3 separate regions of the Homo sapiens genome follow, and all the other regions are linked to region 1. The links are contacts of gene promoters, found by promoter capture Hi-C in blood cells and fetal thymus (Javierre and others, 2016). All regions are on one chromosome and are shown on one strand. The core of a region is centred on a gene start or on the middle of the fragment in contact, and the rest is flanking DNA. Distances in the headings are between cores, read along the strand shown.

Region 1 (5,102 bases), core at 1,250-3,749:
AAAATACCTAAACAAAACATGTCCGTGGTATTCTGGTCCAAATACTGACAGCTTGCATCCCTTATTTTAGATAAAGGAAAAGTAATCATTTTTGTAGCCTTATTCCCCCCTTAAAGCTACAGATACTTAGAGCCTCTAGAAATTCGAAGATAAAGAACCTCTAGGGACACTTTGTCTAAGAATCAAGCTGCAGTGAGGATGTTAATTATCTTAGAATCTAAGTCAGGTAGTGTAGTAGTTTTCAATTATTTTATGGGGGGTGGGGATTCAGGGCCCTTTCTTCAAGCATGATATTGTATGGCACTCCACTACTTAAAATAGTCAAAGCTGAACTTTATGTTGTCAACTACCCCAAATAGTCCCTTTAACCCTAATGGTGACTCCTGACTTGCCTCTATAGAACCTCTGTGCTCTGGGGACAGCAGTTTGAGAATCCACAGCCTTACTGGATTCTCACAATTGACAGACAGGAACTGGAGGTTCTGTGATGGGATGGGACTAGTCCAAGCTGGCAGAGCAGGTGACTCTACCCTGTCTGATTGTGCAACAGTCAGTTTTCTATCCCCACCTGCTGTTCTGGGTGGGAATAATTATAAATTACAGCTTATAGAGATTTAAGCTGGATCCTGGAAAGTAGAAGCGTTTGTAGTAGAGAGCACTGACTCCAGATCTCATTTTCTTCTTATGAGGTACTCACAAGCTCTCGGTACACAAGTGACATTCATTCCCATAGGTGATGTAGTCAGAACCACAAACTGGTAGGTATGTGATGGGGCAGGGGATGGCCACCACTGGATACTTCTTGTAAATGCTGCAGTCCACCTGTGTCATATACAAGCAAATGTCCTGTTTTTCTCCCAGACCCCAAGCTAGGCCACTATTAGATATACTACAAGGGCTGGAAGTCCCAGCTCAGATATTCAGATGTTGCTTGGCCACTTCTTTAAGTACTAGTGTTATCACTATGACAAATACTAGCACTACTGGTATTCTATTTTTTTCTGCTACACTCAGTTAACAATTGCTGGGCATTTCTGGGCTAGGCGTTAAACTTAAATCTTGCATGAATTTTCTTGTTTAATCTTCAGAACAACTAGAGTAAATTCTACTATTACCTCTCTTTACAAATGTGAAAATTAAAGCTTAGAAATAGAGATAACTTGTTGAAGATAAATGCTGGTAAGTAGTAGAGTTAGGATTTGAATCTAGAGCCTGTGCAATTTATCAGGGTACTTTTGCTCTGCCTTTTACACGTTATGCCTTTTATGAAAACATCACCAACTTCTCAGCTGGAAGGCGGTTCTCCCTTCTTTAACTCTGGCATTTTTAAAAAACATTTTTAAAATATGGTTGTTTATATGTATGTCATATTTGTTTAGTTGCCTTCTGGAGAACAGGTACCATTTCTCCATGTGTGTTTGCCTCCCTCTCGAATCCCCCTAAACATAATTTATCCTACATATATGTTGACTAAATGACAGTCAATAGTTATTGACATTAAAATGTTATTCAACATACTTACTTTTTTTGGAGACAGACTAGCAGCTTCTGAAAAAGAGATACAGATGAAGATGTTAAAAGTAAAGCAAACTTTAAATCTCATTAATTAATATAAGTTTCATCCTATATAATTACTCTACATTTCCTTTAGCAATGAGATTCAGCACACTCTCCATCCTTATGCAAAATCCTAGTTGTTTGCTGAGGAAGTTGAATGGCCAATGGGTTAGGTTAACCCTTGGTTTAGGTAAGAGAATTATAAAAATTTCCTCTATTTATTGATCATGGAATGTTTTCTGAACCTCATAGTGTTTTTGATAATGGCCAAAGTCAAGTAGCAATAAGAAGTATTAAAATCATCACTCCTAAGAGCCTGAAGGATCATCTCTGATATCCTTTCCTTCCCAATTGACATAAAGAAATGCAATTGAATGTCTTTATGTGGTTGGAAACACTTTAATTAATTTTTCACAGTATAAAAGTCTAATTGTTGACCCTTGGCTTTTTGAGACTTGTGTTTTATTTTAATCCCCCCAAACTGATTTGGGAAGACATCCAAGTTTTTCTGTATCTTTGCACTAAGAAATGGTATATCTAATAACACTGACAACTTCCAGTGTCCATATGAACATAGAAATGGAAGACTTACAGAGAAATTAGATCATTTTTTGTTCTATGGATGCAAATAAGAATCCTTGAAAGTGAAGACATTGGACTCAAGTCTCTCAAACTCCAGATGGAACATAAGATCCTATTACAAACCAGTACACTTTAAATTCTTACAACCAGATGTTTCTGAGATGCTCACATCGCAGGAGGGATTATTTATGAAAACAATCTTAATGGCTATATAGGGCACTGTCTGACCTTAACTTACCTGAGCTGCTACAGAAATAGACCACTGTACAGAGCAGAAGGAGACCCCCAGTGATCTTCATGCTGGAAATGGCTGTGGTGTAGAAGCTGCTCTGAGATTGTCACTACAGCTGCATCGACCATATCCCAGGTAAGGGGTCATGTTTATATATATGCAAGGCTTGGTTTCTCCGCCTTTCCTGTGAGGTCATCCAGAGGATCTCAAAGCACGGTGCCACACCCTGGGCTGTGTTACAGTCCTTGTTACTGAACTGCCACTTCTTATCTGACCAATGATTTGATTATTTGAGGTAAGAAGTATTTTCTATCTTCCCCAAAGGTGGGACTGTTAAGAATTCTAAACTTCATGAACTAGAAGAGACTAAGTATGAGCTTCTTGACTTAGTTATGAAATAAGTGAAAATCTCAAACCTCCTTTATTTTACGAAACTGGAATCTATTAAACCCCGATTAGACTGATTACACCTACGTTTATATCTTGGCACCTGGGGAAATATTGTTTATTTTTGAGGCAATGAACCAATGAAGCAAACTGGGACCTAATGGAAGGAACACTGACATTAGCATTTATGAGGTATGGAGAAAAGCACTAACATAATACTTCTGATATTTTCTACCTGTATAATCTTGGATAAGTCGTTATATGCTGTGAGCCTTTATCAATCCAAAAGGCTTGGTTATGTCGTGATAACATGTAACCACAAGATTTCTGTGAATTAAAACAAAACTTTGTTTCTTACTCAAGCTACACTTGTATGGTAGTCAGCTGTTCATGCTACATTGCCTTCACTGTGGATGCCAAGTGGGCAGAGTCATCACTATTTGGAACACTGTAGTCAAGGTGAAGTGAAGTTGAGTTCGTTCTCAAGGAGTTCTCATTTTAGCAATTAAAACTTCCAGCCCAGAGCAATACTGCTGTCACTTCCCCTCATGGTCTCGTGGCCATCACATGCTTTGTTATGTATGGAGTGAGTGCAATCAATCTGATGTGGTTTAGCTGTGTCTCCACCCAAATCCCATCTTGAATTGTAGCTCCCATAATTCCCATATGTTGTGGGAGGGACCTGGTGGGAGATAATTGAATCATGGAGGCAGTTTCCCCCATACTGTTCTCATGGAAGTGAATAAGTCTCACAAGATCTGATGGTTTTATAAGGGGTTTCCCCTTGCACTTGGCTCTCATTCTCTCTTGCCTGCTGCCATGTAAGACATGCCATTCACTTTCTGCCATGATTGTGAGGCCTCTTCAGCCATGTGGAACTGTGAGCCCATTAAACTTCTTTTTCTTTATAAATTACCCAATCTTGGGTATGTCTTTATCAGCAGCTTGAAAACAGATTAATACACAGTCTTACCTTGTCCTGACCTGTTCCCTGACCTGAAGGTTGGATGAAGAACTAGAATAGTTGGCAAACAACAGAGACCATCCCAGAGACTGAGTTTCATCCCAGTCCAATAGGGCCTGTTGTTAGCCACAATAGAGTTCACATAATTGGAATCATATACATAAAAGTCTGCTCTAAAGCACAGTGCATTTAATAATATTATTGTGATTGTTATTATTATTTACAAACCAAGAGTTAATGCTATGAGTTGCTGACATTAGATTGTAAACTGTATTGTCCATGCACAACTGTCCAAATAGCTGCAGTTTGCTTATTGAGTTTAAGGACATATGTATGAAGACCTGGGGGAAGGCAGTAGACTGTCCCACTAGTTTACTGCTTGGCAGGTTTATTTTAGTACATTCTAAAACTAGCATCTACAAGACATATTAAGTGACTAATAAATGATATTGCATAATCTCTAATATTTTACTCCTATATCTGTTTGGGAGGCAATGTAATCTAGTAGTTAAGAGCATGGGCATTGAGTAGATCCCATTTAGAATCTTTCTTCTAAAAAATGTTGACTGTGTGTCTTTTAGTATTTAGGTTAACATCTGATACTTTAGTGTCTTCATCCTTATGACAGAAATAATATTTACCTCATAGGTTGTTTTGAGTGTTAAATTAGATTTTACAGACACACACTCTCTCACACACACACATTATACATTCAACTCTTGAACAACATGGCGTCCGGGGTGCTGACACCACCACAGTTGAAAAATTAACATACAATTTTTTTATTTTTCAATAATTTAACTATTAATATCCTTAATATCCTACTGTTGACCTTATTAATAACATAAACAGTTAATCTACACGTTTTGTATGTTACATGTATTATACACTGTATTCCTACAACAAAGTAAGCTAGAAAAAAGAAAATGTTATTAAGAAAATTGTAAGGAAGATAAAATATATTTACATTAATTAAGTGGAAATGGATCATCATAAAAGTTTTCATCTTTGTTGTCCTCATCTTGAGTAGACTAAGGAGAAGAAGAAAGAGGAAAAGTTGATTTTACTGTCTCAGGAGTGGCAGAGGTAGAAGAAAATCTATGTATAAGTCAACATGTGCAGTTCAGACCAATTTTATTCAAGGGTCAACTGTGCATATAATCTCTTATGGATGCATGTCTGTGAGGTGTCTGTGTGGTATGCTTGTGTGGTTTGTATGTATTTGTGTATTAGGGCACCAAGCTCATAATTAGATCTTGATATATGGTAGCTAATAATATGGAATGTGCTCTTTATAACAACTCATTAAGGAAGGAGTTTTTGTTACCCTAGTTTTGCCAGTGAGTAAGTTAAGACTCAGAGGATTTAAGTAATCTCCCA
Region 2 (5,102 bases), core at 1,625-4,124, 410 kb before region 1:
GGCTTCCAATTTGCTAACTCAAGCAGCAACTCTGAATTCAGAATCTACAGTGACTCTCAGCTGTGTCCCTTGATCCTTGATCTTCAGGCTGGATCCTGTTGCCAGCAGCAACTCCAGGAGCAGGAGGATTCTGCATCAGCCACAGACCAGCCCAGAGGAAGAAACAGTTAATTTATCTGAACTTTGGTTTCCCTGTGAGTACAGAGCATGGATAATACTACTGCTCCTGGGTAAAAATAAGACTATATAATTTCATTTGTTTGTATCTACAAAAACAAAACAAACAAAATTTAAAAAAAAAATCAGCTGGGTGCAGTGGCTCACGCCTGCAATCCCAGCACTCTGGAAGGCCGAGGCGGGCGGATTCCCTGAGGTCAGGAGTTCGAGACCAGCCTGATCAGCATGAAGAAACCCCATCCCTACTAAAAATACAAAAATTAGCTGGGCGTGGTGGCTTATGCCTGTAGTCCCAGCTACTCGGGAGGCTGAGGCAGGAGAATCACTTGAACCTCGGGGGCGGAGGTTGTGGTGAGCCAAGATCATGCCATCGCACTCTAACCTGGGCAACAAGAGTGAAACTCTGTCTCAAAAAAAAAAAAAAAAATCAGAGGGATAAATGAGGGACAAATCAAATGGCTCCCATTAAAGGTTAAGCACGGGAATGGCGTTAGACAGGGACAAAGACAGGAAAGTTACTTCTCAGTGTATAGCCGTTTGTGTCATTTTTATTTAGGAGCCACTTTGGCAGTGCTCTTGTGAGAACGACATGAGGTGATGCATGCCCAGCATCCTGCATACTCCGGGCTATTTGCAAAATGCTAGTACTTCCACTGCAGCACCTTGAGCCTCCCACAGGGACATGCTCCTTATCTGCACCTGCTGGTCTATATGCTGAGAAATGACGGAAGTAATCACCTGTGTCCTTAGCGAGCTGCTCTAATATTTATTCACATGAAAACTATGGTGACTCTTCTTCCTGTGCTTTCTGCCCTCTTTTCTTCCTGCCTTCTTCCAGCCATGTCAAGTCCAATTTGGAGCTTCATAAATAGTTCCGGCTCACTACTGCCCACCCCTTTTTCTTTCCACCAGTTAAATGCTACCCGGTTTTCTACAGCAGAGCAGTAACTTATTGTCTTAGATCAAGCAACTCTTAAGACTATCAGGTGTCACGAATTGTGCTAAGGAAAGGATCTGGCTCTAAGCCGGTGTGGTCATGTGGGAAAACAATGAAGTGAGGAAATTTAGGAGGAATTTGATTAATACAAGTAATTTAGAGATTCATTTGCCCTTACTGTCTTCCTGAAACCTCCCAGGCTGACTTCACTGAGTTTCAGGGAGTATCTCTCTGGATTAAGATTTATATGTGGTGAGATTCACTTGCTAGGAATGAAGAGAGAGAAGAAAGGAAGAATGACAGAAAAAAGTTGTATTCTAGATTTTATGAGATGGCCAGAAAATGAAAGAGGTAACCAGAGGCAAAAACTGAGAGACTTGTGCAGCAGATGAGGAAACCGTTTAGTGTAAGTAGCCCATCCTTACCTTTGAGATGGGAACACACAAATTCACTGTGCCCTTGGCACTTTCTTAATGGGTGATCCAAGGCAAGATCCTTCTGGGTTGATTAAATGAGGACACCAGAAGGTTCTTGATGTCCTTGGCAAATCATGCAGCCTCAATGAGTCTATTTCATCAACTGTAAATTGCATATAGCAAGAGCTACTCCTAGGGGTTCAATGAGATCATGAGGCAGTGATTGGGACTCCAGATTCAGGATGCCTGGATTAAAATCCCAGCTCTGTCACTTGTTCATCTGTGTGACCTGGGAGCAAGGTATTGAATCAGGGACAAGTTAGTCAGTTATTTTTCAGAATTTCTTTATGTAAGAATTGAAATACGAAATATTTAGCACATACAGTTGTTGTAAGGACTAAATTAGATAATGCAGATAAAATACATAGAAAAATACTTGGCACATAACATATGTTCAGTAAATGCTTCATAGTTAGTGGTGGTAATGATAATAGTAAAAGATAATTCATATAAAGATCCAGTGCAAAGTCTGGCACATAGTAGACCCTCAGTAGATGTTAGCTATTATTACTCTGGGTTTCCCTGATTTTAGGACTTGCTCACAACTACATCTATTCCCAATACCTGCCTCAGTTCTAGCCTCTCAGTGTAACAGGAACTCCATCCTCACCAGCTGTGTGGGCTGTAAGTGGTTTTGCTACCTTGTGCCAAAGTGAATAATGTCAATGGGCATTTCTTGTTCACGTGGGTCATGAATTTCAAGTCATCAGGACTTCATTTGTGCCTTGCTTTTCTGAGCTTGTTACTGCAACTCTACCAGATACGGAGCCTGGCAGTGAGTTCTAATCTGTCTGTGACCCTGATTCCTCATACATTTGGCTTATTTGATCCTACTGGAGTTGTGCTTCAAACTTAATAGAGCAACTTGAGACTGTGATGCTACCATTCTCATGACGCAGAATAGCTGCTGTGCACACGCTCATGCTGTCCTTGGCTATCTGAGCCTGCCAAGGCTGGATTGAATTAGCTGCAAGCCTTCTGCCCAATTCTGGGGGACCAACTCCTCACCGGGCCTAGGATGCTTCTCTTTATTGGCCATTCCTGCCTTACATTTCCTATCTTCCTGGCCCCAGGTCAAATTGTTCATGATATTTTCAACTATGAGATTCTGTTATTCCTTGTTGAACTGCAGAAGTGTATTATAACTTCAAAAATACTTTTCTGTTTTCCGGAGAAGGAGCAAATGTCAAAATACTTCACGAGTGGTCTTGAGCCAGAATTGCTTTGTGGTTTCATGATGTAGGGGTATCTGGAGGCATAGACTTACTTTTCTATTCATTTCACTTTTCTTTTAGAAGACATTCTTGAGTAAGTATGTCCTGGCACAGTCTGGGTGCTTCTCTCTGTCACGTTTTTTACTTTTCTTGGGGAAAAAATGCAGCGAGCTCAGCTATCATAATGAAAAGCCTCAGAATATGGCATTTTTTAAACAAATGTTGAATACTAGTGCAAGTTATATTTCTGATACTGATGTATTATGCTTCAGCAAGAAGTGTTATCTTGCGAATTCCATTCTCCAAGTGACATTTTGAGAGGTTTAATTGACTCTATCTATTAAATTAGGACCTGGACTTGAAAACATTGAAAGTTTTTAGCTTTTAAGTGAGGGATGTAACACTCAGGATAGAAATTTGATTTTATATCATGAGATCACTCTATCTTTGGTTCATGCATAAGTGCATTTTTGAATTGCTCAAAATTTTTGTTGTTGAATATGAAAAAGCCAGTTAAAATAGAAACTGAGTTATTTGAGCTGCAGCCATTATCTCTACTAGTTATATGTTTGAAAACTATCAGCATAAAAAGCTAAACATGCATGTTGTGCAATACCATCAGAGATTCTGATGAACACTGTTCTTGTCTGTTTCCAATAAGCATTCAGTCTAGTGAGGAGAGAAACTAGAAATAAGACAATTACACTAATTCTTGCAATTTGCATTTCCTACTAACACAAAAACACTTTTAAATAAGCAATATATGTACAGAAATAAACAAAATAAACTACAGGCTTGTATTGAGTTTACATTCTTACTTAATATGATCCAGAGTTCTAGGGTTTAGTGGTATGGGCCAGAGAACTTATTTTTCCATCTGGGAGTTGGTAGTTGAGAAGGATTTTAACATGTGGTAGGAGAAGGGTTCAAGACTTAAGGAAGAGTCTGAATAAAGGCACAATAATGTGGCTGTGCAATATGTGCCCAGGCACTGTGGCATTAGTAAAGGAGATTTATCACTGAAATACTAGGTAGAAGTATGGTTAGAATATGGAAAAGTCACATGTCTAATTTTCCTTTCTGTAGTACTAAATCAAACATTTTAATGAAATTACTGAGTAGAGGCAATACCTACCCATGGGTTTTAAAGATCTCAAGAATGAAATTTTACAACCGTTGGCCAACATATCTAGTTTCACTGGAAATTTTATAAGTATAGAAGAAAGTGGAAATGTTAATAAAGAGAAAGAAGCCAGTTGGCTGTCCCCTACTTGATGAGATTACCTCATTCTTAATTGAAAATGAGCTTGACAAACATAATGACACTGATTACATTTCCCCAAAAACTGGCTTGTAGACCAGAATTCTTTCCTTGACAGGTTCAGTAGGAATTCTACCAGTCAGGACAAATAACATGTGTCATGACGTGAGGTTTTGCTTATTGATGAAAGAGAAAAATCCAGACAGAAGATAGCTTGGTCAGTACAGGATTAAAATAAAAGGAACCTGGTATTGTTAAACACCAAAGTGGAACATTTGGATATTTGGCCATCTTTTGCCTAAGTAAAATTCTGCCTCACTCTCTGACAAGGGTGAAAGTCATACTGATCATTTTAAATCAGAATTTTCCACTTTTCTAGACCAGTTTTGTTGGGCTATCACAAAACTACATATCATAGATTGCTTAGGTTGTATTTTAATCTCTTCTATCATATGTGAGAGACATCCTAGTCTAATCAGCAACATATTCTTAGAGCTAATTACTTCTGCAGTTGGTAATCTCATCTGTTTCACTTGGCTTTAGGAGGGTGACTCATTAAAAAAGAAAATTTTATTGTTTATTTTCTTAGTATGAAATTCATACACATCTAAAGTCATATACATTTGATGTAGAAAATTTGAGTATAAACATAAACAAAAATTTAAAAAACCCAAATCTTCTATTATTGCATATATATAAAAGGAAACATATTGCATATACCATTTACTAACTCACATTTGCCAGAACAATTTTTAAAAATCTTTCTATGTAATTAACTATCCAGGCGTAAAGTTCTTTTTTAATAGCATATAGTACTTTGTTGAATGCATATTTCTTGGTTTACTTGACAAATCCCATTGTTTTGAATATTTAGATTGTTTAAATTTTTGTTTCATTGAACACCCTTGTGGTTTATTTTTATTTTTATTATTTTTTCCCACTCATCCATGGTTATTTGCATGAGATAAATTCCTAGATGTGGAATTACTGGGTGAATCTATGAGCACATTTAAAGGCTTTTGCTTTGAGTGATACAG
Region 3 (5,102 bases), core at 820-3,319, 390 kb before region 1:
TTGGTTTCTTTTTTAAAAATTTCTATGACCTTATCAATACTGATATTTTTCTATTTGATGAGCAGTTGTCATTATATCCTTCTTTATTTCTATAATTATAATTTTCTTTAGGTTTTTTTGGACATATTTCTAATGGCTACTTTGAATACTTTGTTAAATCTGATATCTGGTTGCTATCACAGGCAGTTTCTTCTGCCCTCTTTCTTCCTCCAGTATATGTTTTATTTTCATGTTTCTTTGTATGTTTTTGCAGTTGGGTTGGAAACTAAATATTTTAGATAATATATTGTAGAAACTATGGATTCTAATCTTCCTCCCTTGTGGCTTTTTATTACTATTTGCTTAGTGACTAGCTGGATTATTTTAGTGAAGTCTATTTCTCTTCCCCACAGTGCTTAGCTTCTGATGTTGCAGATCTGTGAAGCTCCTCATGCTGTCATGTTGCCTTCCTATTTTTAAACCTTCAAAACATTAGAAATGGGCCCCAGATTCTTTCAAGTGACTTATTGCTTTTGTTGATGTGATTTTGTCATGAATAAGCTTTCGAAATAGAAAGATTAAACAGAGTATGTTTTCCTTTTAGAAAGAAATAGAATATATTGTATTCTTACAGCATGCCGTATTCTTGTAGCATGGAATAAGTTTTATTTGATTGCTTTATTCAATTTTTTATTTTTATTAAAATCTTTGTATCTATAAGAGGAAAGCTCACTATAGTTGTGTGTGTGTTCATACTTTAATAACAATTAGGATTAAGACCACTTTTTTCTTTCGTAGTAGGAAATTTGCTATTATTTTCTCTTTCAAGAAATGAAATGGGTAGTTAGGTTACTTTTTGCTATTTGAAAGTTTGGAGAAATTTTGATCTAAACAAGAATGTTCAAGTCTTATTTTAATAATGGTGTATGAACACTTTTTAGTGCTGTATATTCAAATTTCCTCTTCCTTTTATGACCATTCTGATGTTTTATATTTTTAGGGTTTTCACTTGGAAAAATAAAAATAGCATAGGCCTTGTAGATCTGAATTTAAATTCCAGCTGCACCTCTTAGTAGCTGGGTGACCTTGGACATACACCTTCATCTCTGTAAGCTTCAGTTTCTGCTATAAAAGGAGGAAAAATATTTATAAAATGGCTTATTATACCAACAAAAAAAGGATGTGTATAAAGCACTCAGCACTGAGACAAAGTCAGTAGCTAGTAAATGTTAATTCCCTTGCTTTGAGAAAATAATATATTTCACACAGAATTTAAAATATATTAGCATTTAACTGTGCCAAATGTTTCTTCGTACAATTTTTCTATTATCCTGTTGCTCTATTTTCTGTCTTATTTATATTTTTATTAGTTTTTTAAATTAGATTTTGCTGTTTTTTGGACATTTCTTAGTCTTTTTCAAGTAGTAATCTTTGGTTATATTAATTACTTGTTTTAGTTTTCTCTGTTATGTAATCACCTTGTTTATTTTATCATGTTTATAGTTTCCAATTCTTCTGTAGTTTTTCAAAAACTAATTTTCTTATCTTATATGATGTGGGAACATAGTGAATGTTCTTTTATTTTATTAAGAATAAAGACAAGTAAAGCTCTAAATTTTTTTCCAAATATTGTTTTAACCATTTCCTATAGATTTTGACATATAATTATTATTCTTTTAATATCCTTCTCTTAACTTCTGAGCATGTGATCTTCAGGGATGGACTGGAAGCAGAGGGACTAGTCGAAGAAGCCATCATAACCATCATCTGAAAGGCTATAGCTAACTATCTCAAGTGAAAATACTAATTGGGTGTCAGAATGTCTGGGGCCTAGAAATAAAATCAACCCATACTAATCGAATGCCTATATGTGCTGAACACTGTCCTCCTCATAGTATTTTTTGTGTATCTCCTTAATTGTCACAATAGTGTTGTGACATTTGTCCCATTTCCTCCTTTCTGCAATTGAAGATATTGTAGTAGTCAAATGACTTACCCAAGAGCACAGAACAAGTAAAATCTATTTCTTAGGAATCCTAGCTGGCTATTTGCTCCACTGCTATGCTATGCCACCTTTTGTAAGTCTCTTACAGACTTATTTAGAGCCCAAATCTTATCACTTGTATAAGCGGTGGGCATTGTTACCTTTTAATTAACTTTGTGGGGACAGGAGTGGATTGTCTTGTTGATATGGTTTGGCTGTGTCCCCACCCAATCTCAACTTGAATTGTATCTCCCAGAATTCCCATGTATTGTGGGAGGGACCCAGGGGGAGGTAATTGAGTCATAGGGGCCAGTCTTTCCCATGCTATTTTCACGGTAGTGAATAAGTCTCATGAAATCTGTTGGGTTTATCAGGGGTTTCCGCTTTTGCTTTCTCCTCATTTTTCTCTTGCTGCCACGATGTAAGAAATGCCTTTCTGAGGCCTCTCCAGCCATGTGGAACTGTAAGTCCAGTTAAACCTCTTTCTTCCCAGTCTCGGGTATGTCTTTATCAGCAGCGTGAAAACAGACTAATACACTCGTCTTTAAAATATTACTTGTGCTTAGTTAACTTAAGAGAACACATGGATGTCATTGAGAGCAGTTTCCCAATACAGGAAAAGGCTCACATGTGAAAGAGCTCACTCATCTATTTCACATTTCTCCATAAGACCATGTCTGATAAGACTAGTGTATAGAATATCAATAGTAGTTACAGTTAATGATATAACTGCTATGTGACAAACACTGTGCCATAAGAACATTATATGTGTTATTTCAAGGAATCCTTATCACAGTCAGACGAGGTGGGTATTATTATTATTTTTCTCCCTTGTTTATTGATTGGGATGCTGACACCCCAAAGCGTTAAGTAATTCATCTAAAGTTGCAGAAACAGGAAGTGGCACAGCTGGTATTTAAATTAAGCTATCTAGCTTCAAAACCCAAGATTCTCTCAATCATTTTTGCTTAATTGTGTCTTCTGAAAGCTATAATAAGGCAGACTATTAATTAATATAAAGGAAAATACTAAGAATGTGGAGCTTCAGGAGGTATTGGATGGACTGATACACGTAGAAGCTTGTGATCTTCTGCCCACAAAAGAAAGGGGGACTCTGTGAACTGAAGTCCACTTATACTAATCCTAAATAAGACTCTAGAATAATATTTTTAGAAATAGAGTAGTGTGCGATAGAAAAGTCAGACTGCCTTGTGTCAATGGGTCAAGTGGGGTAGATGAAATATCTTCTTACAGATAGAGTCTTAAATTTAGATGGACAGTCTAACTCTATGCCCTTTTAATTCTTTTTCAGTAGCCTTTAAAAAACTTTTTGAAATCAAATATCTTAAATATTAATTTTTATTTTGTCAGAAATAGAAATTAGAACAAGATATCTCAGGTTCTTTCTGTGCGTAGTTCACATTCATACACTAGAAATTTAGAGTTCCCCTCAAGACAGTAAGAGATTCAAGAACAGGAAAAGATAATTACAATGCAAATACTAATCTCATACACAGGTATCTTGAAGATTCTATAGAAACATCTATAGTTGTATGCTATAAAAATGTATAATCCATCAGCACTGTGGGGCTCCTTGAGGAAAGCTCTGACTGCCCTGTGCAACCCCTGTTATACATACATACATATGGCCATGTGCAGGAGATGTGTACTCTTTCTTAGATGCCAGCTTGATATTAATCTATATCAATTATTCAAAATAAATTATACCAACTCTACAGCATTTTGATGATCCACTCAACTCAGTGCTATACCTAACAAACTTTGCCATAAGTGTTTTATAGTGAACACCGTGGAACAGTTGTATGTATCAACGGTTAAGACAAAATGAATTTTATACATTGGTCGATCGTAGGGCACACCTGTGATGAATTCATAGTACAACTATTATATGATAGACACTATAAAAACTATTGTATTTTAACCACTAATGCTCCCTGGGAGAAGCTAGTGGCTGAATTAAGAATATTTTTATTATCACTGTTCATGAACTGAACTTTATGTCAATAAATCTTAAGCATATCTTAATTTACCAGGAAGATCTTCCCCCTATTTCATCATTGGATGGAGTAACCCCTAACTGAAGTCTTCAGAGCATATGGGAAAGTCTCGTTGTGACTCAGTGGCCACTATTGCCAGAGGAACAAACTCCATGAGCTCCTTTTTCTGACCATTGACTTATTGCTATGAAATTTAGGCAAGTTATTAAACGTTTGTGAGTTTCAATTTATTTACCTATAAAATGCTGATATTGATAATATCTTCTCTGTGAGATCATGCTATAAAAATAAAATGAAATAAAGACTGCGAAAGATTGTCATACATTGTAAAGTGCCGTGGAGGAAAAAAAGTTATTACTGTTTTAACAGTGATGTGCTGGCAGAGCCTGGACTATAGCCGAAACAGGCTGACTCAGAAGGAGGTTTGTAGGGGAGCTGGAGGCTTGCTGAGGCATTGCTAAGGAAACCAGTAGAGAAATATACGTCACTCAGCCCCATCCTTATCTTCCTACTGCAGAGTATCTACCAAGAGCACAAACAGTGCAAGGGATCAGTCATGGATAATTTGGGAAAAAACACATCAGATTCCATTTAAGGAAGGAAAGAAAGTGGGAGCAAGCTCCAAAGAAGGAAAATGTTTCTCTTGGTTGCAAAGAGAAAGCACTTCCTGAACATTTCTAATCGACATGTGTAATGCCATCTGGAAGGCAGAGGGAGAAAGCTGGCTCTTAGGTTTCCTTTCAGAAGGGGAAGCCTTTGTCCCTGGCATCGTTGGAATATCTGTAAGGAGATGAAGTTTAGTAGCCCTGGGAGTCCCTCTGGACTAAGCTAATGGATTTCACTGTCAGCTTCTTTGCTGAGTATAAGAAACAAGTTGGGGTAAAAATGAGTTTTGTGACCCTGGGGACTAAAATTGTGGAGAGTTCCCTATGTTTCTTTATATCTCAGCAACATCTCTCATATAAGCTCATGCTTTGACATTAATGCTTTTCCTACCATAGTCCTGACTGCTGTGAGGGGTTATTCTTTTTGTTCCCTTTATACTTGAAATGGTGGATACCAAGTAAACATGCCAGCCTCAACTTTGCTGAATGGAACTCCTTATTGCCCATTCTCACCCT

What was found. The method cuts DNA at HindIII sites, captures the fragments that hold promoters and counts their contacts. A CHiCAGO score of 5 or more calls a contact.
Region 2: a fragment that was not itself captured here is called in contact with the fragment with the promoter of SPINK7 in region 1 in 3 of 17 cell types (M2 macrophages, endothelial precursors and M0 macrophages); the score reaches 5.9 in M2 macrophages.
Region 3: a contact is called between a fragment that was not itself captured here and the fragment with the promoter of SPINK7 in region 1, in 2 of 17 cell types (M0 macrophages and M2 macrophages). The highest score is 5.2, in M0 macrophages.

The regions. Positions count from the first base shown.
Region 1 is chr5:148,309,820-148,314,921 of GRCh38, reverse strand. SPINK7 (serine peptidase inhibitor Kazal type 7) reads right to left here and starts at 2,499. Exons shown (of 4, transcript NM_032566.3): 1 at 2,378-2,499; 2 at 1,523-1,548; 3 at 698-822. The coding sequence starts at 2,438. All of the region lies in intron 2 of FBXO38-DT (FBXO38 divergent transcript), which reads left to right. The HindIII fragment of the contact is 4,809 bases long and covers 1,145-5,102 here.
Region 2 is chr5:148,721,658-148,726,759 of GRCh38, reverse strand. No RefSeq gene overlaps it. Among named protein-coding and RNA genes, the nearest start is that of HTR4, 70 kb to the right of the region's middle. The HindIII fragment of the contact is 5,848 bases long and covers 1-5,102 here.
Region 3 is chr5:148,696,989-148,702,090 of GRCh38, reverse strand. No RefSeq gene overlaps it. Among named protein-coding and RNA genes, the nearest start is that of HTR4, 45 kb to the right of the region's middle. The HindIII fragment of the contact is 1,950 bases long and covers 1,095-3,044 here.